2 separate regions of the Homo sapiens genome follow, and region 2 is linked to region 1. The links are contacts of gene promoters, found by promoter capture Hi-C in human tissues and cell types (Jung and others, 2019). All regions are on one chromosome and are shown on one strand. Each heading gives the region's core, a stretch centred on a gene start or on the middle of the fragment in contact. The rest is flanking DNA. Distances are from core to core; before and after follow the strand shown.

What was found. Contacts are between HindIII fragments. The study calls those that stand out against the background at their distance.
Region 2: a contact is called between a fragment that was not itself captured here and the fragment with the promoter of PREB in region 1, in 1 of the 25 tissues and cell types used here (liver).

The regions. Positions count from the first base shown.
Region 1 is chr2:27,132,635-27,136,152 of GRCh38, reverse strand. It overlaps PREB (prolactin regulatory element binding), which reads left to right and starts at 1,517. Exons shown (of 9, transcript NM_013388.6): 1 at 1,517-1,866; 2 at 2,432-2,621; 3 at 2,816-3,036; 4 at 3,230-3,310; 5 at 3,426-3,518. The coding sequence starts at 1,732. RefSeq lists enhancers at 1,579-1,628, 1,104-1,760 and a silencer at 1,699-1,798. The HindIII fragment of the contact is 4,836 bases long and covers 365-3,518 here.
Region 2 is chr2:27,004,528-27,007,563 of GRCh38, reverse strand. All of the region lies in intron 1 of MAPRE3 (microtubule associated protein RP/EB family member 3), which reads right to left. All of the region lies in intron 1 of MAPRE3-AS1 (MAPRE3 antisense RNA 1), which reads left to right. Among named protein-coding and RNA genes, the nearest start is that of MAPRE3-AS1, 8.5 kb to the left of the region's middle. The HindIII fragment of the contact is 6,287 bases long and covers 1-3,036 here.

The DNA of each region.
Region 1 (3,518 bases), core at 268-2,767:
TGGTGTCAAAGGAAACGGAGAGGCCAGAAAGAGCAGGTGCCATGTATCCAAGGAGGACAAGGGACCCACAAGGCCTGGGGACTTGAGATATGCAGAGAGCTTGGCCAGGCCCTTCACACATCTAATTCAACTCTGTGGGACAGATATTGGCATCCCCAAAGATGAAGCCACTGCGCTATTCCTCTGGGTGCACCTTAGGTTAATGAGAATGCAGGAGAGGGCGTCTCTTTGCAGGGAAGGACATCCCTTGTGCTCGCTCTCAGGAGTGCACAAAGGTCCTCATCAGATCAGAAACCCGAGGGAGAATGGAGTGTCAGGCGCAGAAGATACCTGCCCGGGAGCCAAACTGCCCCCTCTGAGGCCAGCAAAGCAGCTGGCCACCCACCAAGCCACCAGCCCAGGAGTGTGAAGCCTTGAGAAAGGGAATGGCAGACACCACCCCTGCCAAAAGTGGGCGATAGGCGTTAAGGATGACAGACGTGTCCTCATACGAGGAAGCAATGGATTCAGCATTTGAAGTCAGGTTTATTTTTAAGTTCATGCTGCCTCCGTTAAGAAGCAAGAGACTCCGGTGGTTTCTGGTGTGTGCCCTCGGGCAAATCACTTCCTCTCTGAGGTAAGATGCAAAGGCCTGTGCTCCTAGGAGTTGGCATATCACTCCTCAGATGGGAACAGTCCTTATTTGAGGATTTTATGTGTGTGAGAGACAGGGTCTAGCTCTGTTGCCCAGGGGCTGGAGTGCAGTGGTGACATCACTGGTGGTCCAGCGCAGCCTCGACCTCCCAGTCTCAAGTGATCCTCCCGCCTGAGCCTCCTGGGCACCTGGGCCCACAGGTGCCACGATGTTTGGCTAATTTTTAAATATTTCGTAGGGACGGATCCCCATGTTGCCCAGGCTGTCTCGAAAGCCTGGGCTCAAGCCATCCTCCTCTCTCGGACTTTCCGAAAGTGTTGGGATTACAGGAGGATTACAGGCATGAACCACCGTGCCTGGCAGAGGATTTTTTTTTTTTTGAGACGGAGTTTCACTCTTGTTGCTTGTTGCCCAGGCTGAAGAGCAATGGCAATGGCGCGATCTCGGCTCACTGCAACCTCTACTTCCCAGGTTCAAGTGATTCTCCTGCCTCAGGCTCCCGAGTAGCTGGGATTACAGGCGCACGCCACCACGCCCTTTGTATTTTTGGTAGAGACGGGGTTTCTCCATGTTGGTCAGGCTGGTCTCGAACTCCTGATCCGCCCGCCTAGGACTCACAAAGTGCTGGGATTACAGGCGCGAGTCGGATTTCTTTATTAAAGGTTGACCTTCATCAACCTCCATTGGCTCCACCTCCTCCGCCCGCGCCCCGCGCCCCGCACAAAAATGGCGAAGTCGGTGCTGGGCGACTCTGCCTCCGCGCCAGGGGTGGAGAACCGAAGCCCCGCCCCGGGAAACGCGGCCCCGCGGCCGGCTAGTGCTGACGCGTGTCGGCGCTCCTGCGCCTGCGCGGAGGGAGCCGCGAGACAGGTGCGCATGCGCAGTGCGCGTCTGCGAGACCGACTTGGACGGAGCCGAGCTGAGGCTCGGCTTCCTGCTGATGGTCAGGGTTTTGGCAACTCCCCGGTGTGAGAGGGGTAGGGAGTGCTCCCGGCGGCGACGGGGCCGAGTTCACCAGCCGCCGGGGCAGTAGTCGAAGGCCCGGCGCGGCATGTCCTGGGTGCCGCGGTGCGGGCAGTGAACGCGCGCCGGGCGGGATGGGCCGGCGCCGGGCGCCAGAGCTGTACCGGGCTCCGTTCCCGTTGTACGCGCTTCAGGTCGACCCCAGCACTGGGCTGCTCATCGCTGCGGGCGGAGGAGGCGCCGCCAAGACAGGCATAAAGAATGGCGTGGTGAGAGCGCAGGGCCACTGGGGCTGGGTCTTGCTGCGGGCTGGCGGCGATTCCAGGGTGGCCGGGGGGTCGCGGGGCGGGCCACACTCCAGCTTCGGGCCCTGCCCACTTCTGTTGGGAAGACCCGCTTGCCTGACGCCCAGGGGCGAATTTCAGTCGAGAACTCAGCGGGCGGAGGAGAGGCTTTTAAGGTAAAGTGAAAACTGCACACAGCTGCAGAGTCGCCAGGAACGCTTCAGCTCCGCCTCAGAGCAGCTCCAGGGGTCTTATACTGGCCTTTTCCGGGAGGTCTTGCCTGCCCTCTAGCAGCGGCGAGAGTGGTGCATTTGGGTTTAGGCTAAGTTCCTTCCCTCTCCTGAGCTTCACCCTGTTCTGTAAAATAGAGGTAATAATCCCAGTCCTGCTCACTGTGTAGATTTGTGAGGCCCAAATGAGAGAAAAAAGACTCGAGAAACCCTTGTGAACTAGAACGTGCAGAAAGCAAAGGGGTAAGACATCAGACTCTTCCCTAAACGTGCTCTCTGGGCACCCCTGAACTTGCTCATCCGGGTTCCCCCTCCCACAGCACTTTCTGCAGCTAGAGCTGATTAATGGGCGCTTGAGTGCCTCCTTGCTGCACTCCCATGACACAGAGACACGGGCCACCATGAACTTGGCACTGGCTGGTGACATCCTTGCTGCAGGGCAGGATGCCCACTGTCAGCTCCTGCGCTTCCAGGCACATCAACAGCAGGGCAACAAGGCAGAGAAGGCCGGTGAGGAGCTCCCTCTCTACCCCCTTGGGGAAAGGGTTGAACGAGTAAGGTCACTCTTGGTGTCTCTAAAGAAGTGGGTCTGGAAGTAGGGTTTTGGTAGCAAGCTAGAAGTTGTATGGGCACCTGCCATGGAGAGAGGGGCCAGTACTCCTTACTGTAGAAGCCTGGAACCTGGCCAAGTGTTTGTGTTACAGGTTCCAAGGAGCAGGGGCCTCGACAAAGGAAGGGAGCAGCCCCAGCAGAGAAGAAATGTGGAGCGGAAACCCAGCACGAGGGGCTAGAACTCAGGGTAGAGAATTTGCAGGCGGTGCAGACAGACTTTAGCTCCGATCCACTGCAGAAAGTTGTGTGCTTCAACCACGATAATACCCTGCTTGCCACTGGAGGAACAGATGGCTACGTCCGTGTCTGGAAGGTGTGGGTTTGCAGGGTTAGGGAGGGTGAATGTCAGTAGCAACAGGATCAAAATTGTGAGAAGTTGAACGTGGCATCTGGGAAACTTGTGAATGAAGCTTGCATTGAGGGGCCATTAGAAGGGGTGGCGTGGGCATCAGTCACAGTGTACTTGCTGGACACCTGAGTTAACCATGGTGGTTGTTTGGCTACAGGTGCCCAGCCTGGAGAAGGTTCTGGAGTTCAAAGCCCACGAAGGGGAGATTGAAGACCTGGCTTTAGGGCCTGATGGCAAGGTGAGGGGCTGGGGGTGGGAGGAGGATGGAGAAAGGAGAGAGGAGGTGCTTATGCTGCTTGCCCAGTAAGTGGATCCCCTAACTGTCCATCCTTGGAATCTTTATTCCTAACTAGTTGGTAACCGTGGGCCGGGACCTTAAGGCCTCTGTGTGGCAGAAGGATCAGCTGGTGACACAGCTGCACTGGCAAGAAAATGGACCCACCTTT
Region 2 (3,036 bases), core at 448-2,947, 130 kb after region 1:
TCCAGCTATCTACTGTTTTCTTTCAGAAAGGGCATAAGGTTTTCAAAGGGAAACTAAAATATTGTCAAAATAAAGTTCGTTATGCAGAACATAATTTATCCCAGGGCAGTAAATCCTTTACTTCTGACAGACCACAGGCCATTCAAAACTTTCCCAATTACTTCTAAGACACAATTAAGAAGAATCCGGGCTAATGAGGATAGCAGGTTTACAACTTTTCTAAAATAATCACAGGATAACTTAACCAAGTCCAAACTTCTTCCTTGGGATTCTAAACACGAAAAGGCCTTTTGTGAGTTAAATTAGCCCTTCAACAACCTGCCAATCTGGGCTCACCTAATTAGCATAAACCTTTCTACCTATTTGTACATGCAAGATATAGACGAACCTTTGGTGTTATGACTCAACTTCAAGGTAAAGGAAAACCAGAATATGTCACCCCAAAATATGCCTATTTGACTTATTTTTGAGCTAAAAGTAATTAAAGAGCAGCAAATAGAGGATGAGCTCTATTCTCCTGCTTTTCTGCCTAAAGACAGGATATAAATTCTTCTTTACTGGAGATAGTTCTTATCAGCCCAGACACAGCACCAGAGGAATCTGTAAACAAACCTTACACCATTGGTTTCTTCCCATGTATCTAACTTCCCACAGTTTCCCCCTTTTGGAAGCCTAAAATTGCTTTCTTCTGTCCTGTTATTTCTCTACAAATGTATTGTTCTTTTCTGAAGATGGCATATAAGCCAGAGTTTGACGCCACTGCCTTGAAGTTGCCTTTCATTGGGGTTTCTCCTGCATTCTGTGCCCTCCACACATTAATAAACTTGCTTGGCCAGGCATGGTGGCTCATGCCTATAATCTCAGTGGTTTGGGAGTCTGGGGCGGGAGGACTGCTTGAGGTCAGGAGTTCAAGACCAGCCTGGGCAACATAGCATGACCCCGTCTCTACAAAAAATTTTAAAAAAAATAGTGGGACGTGGTGGCACATGCCTGTAGTCCCAGCTACTTGGGAGGCTGAGGAGGAAGAATTGCTTGAGCCCAGGAGTTCAAGGCTTCAATGAGCTGTGATCATGCCACGGCACCCCAGCCTTAGTGACAGAGTGAGACCCTGTATCTGAAGAGAAAAACAAAATAAAAAAACTTTGCTTGTTTTTCTTTTGCTGATCTGTCTTTTGTTACAGGGGTCTGTCCCAACTATGAACTTATGAAGGTTAAGAAGAAATTACATTTCCTCCCCAATAATGGGAATTATCAGACATCAATAGTCTACTAAGTCTCTCTTCACCCAATGGCAAAGCCTACTTGTCTAATAGCCACAGCAGCTAAGCTAATGGCTTCCACACACTTGTTTTTTTTTTGTTTTTGTTTTTGTTTTTATTTTTGAGACGGGGTCTCGCTCTGTCACCCAGGCTAGAGTGCAGTGGTGCAATCTTGGCTCAGTGCCAGCTACGCCTCCCGGGTTCACGCCATTCTCCTGCCTCAGCCTCCCGAGTAGCTGGGACTACAGGCGCCCGCCACTGTGCCCGGCTAATTTTTTGTATTTTTAGTAGAGACGGGGTTTCACCGTGTTAGCAAGGATGATCTCGATCTCCTGACCTCGTGATCCGCCCACCTCGGCCTCCCAAAGTGCTGGGATTACAGGCGTGAGCCACCGCGCCCGGCCGACACACTCTTGGTTTTAAGGTCTCTTTTAAATTTGATGGTCCTCCATGCTGTACAATATTTGTTGCTCACTGAAAATATACAACAATTCTCAGCAAGTAGGGTTGCCACCAATGAAATCCCATTACTTTCTCCCTCACCTATTTCTATTCATTATAATAATACTTTGACTCCTGCCACTCTCCCTTTGGATGTCATGTTCTCAATGAGGCCATTTGGCCCATTGATTCTGCCCTAGGAGGAAGAGTTAGATAATTAATTCAAGGAAAAGGAAAACTGTGCCTTAATTTAGGAACCAAAACCCTAACCACTCAAGGGAGTTCAGTGTTGCTTTCTTTCCTCCTCGAGCCTTTGCAGTTCATGCTTTGCAGAAGGCCTGGAAAGTAGGGAGAATCTTACAAAATGTGGGACTGAGGATTTGCTGCAGAGCACTATGAGATGTGAGAGAGGTCAAAGATGACCCCAAAGTTTCTTGCCCAAGCCACTGGAAGGATGGAGAAAACTGCAGGAAGAGCAGGTTTGAGAGTGCAGTGAAGACCACGAGCTCACTTAAGATTATGCTGTGGACACTTCAAAGAATAATTAAGGATATTAGGAAGCATCATCTTCCATGGGGCATAATATTCCATGCTATCCTTACATTAGCTTTAGTTGCTGGGCATTTTGATTTTTGATAGTCCTGGAATTAATATATTTGAACATTCAATTTTTGTCTAAATCTGTGACTACTTCCTTGGGCAGGGAATTACTGGGTCAAAGGGCATGATATATTTTTTAAGGACTAACAGCTTCCATAAAGGCTGTACCTTTCATTTTTTCCCCAGAAGTTTATGAGTGCTCATTTCAACACCAACATTGTTATTATTTTAAAAAGTGTGTTGATTGAAAGAGAAGTATTTTTTTATCTTTAAAATAATGTTTCTTTGATTACTAGTGAGGGAGAACATATTTCTATGTTTATTACCCATATATATTTACTCTTCTGTGAACTGTTTTGGGCTGTCGAGTTTGAGAACCCACAAGTCATCTGTGTGCTCATGTCTAACAAACATCCGGAAATCCTGCTGAGGAATTCTCACCATTCATGCCTTCTACTAAAGATCTAGTATCCTGGGATAAATCTGTACTGATCCCAGACATATCCATGGCATTTACTTTTTTTTTTTTTTTTTTACTAGATCCTTGATATTCTAGTAATTTGCTCTAAACATGAGATACTAGAAAATATCCTTATCAGAAGGTTTTAGCCTAGGCAACATAGTGAGACCCTATCTTTACAAAAATAGAAATTAGCTGGGCATGGTGGCGCATGCCTGTAACTCAGGAGTGCTGTTGCCATACTCCAGCTATCATGAAATGTATTTCGACGTGGAA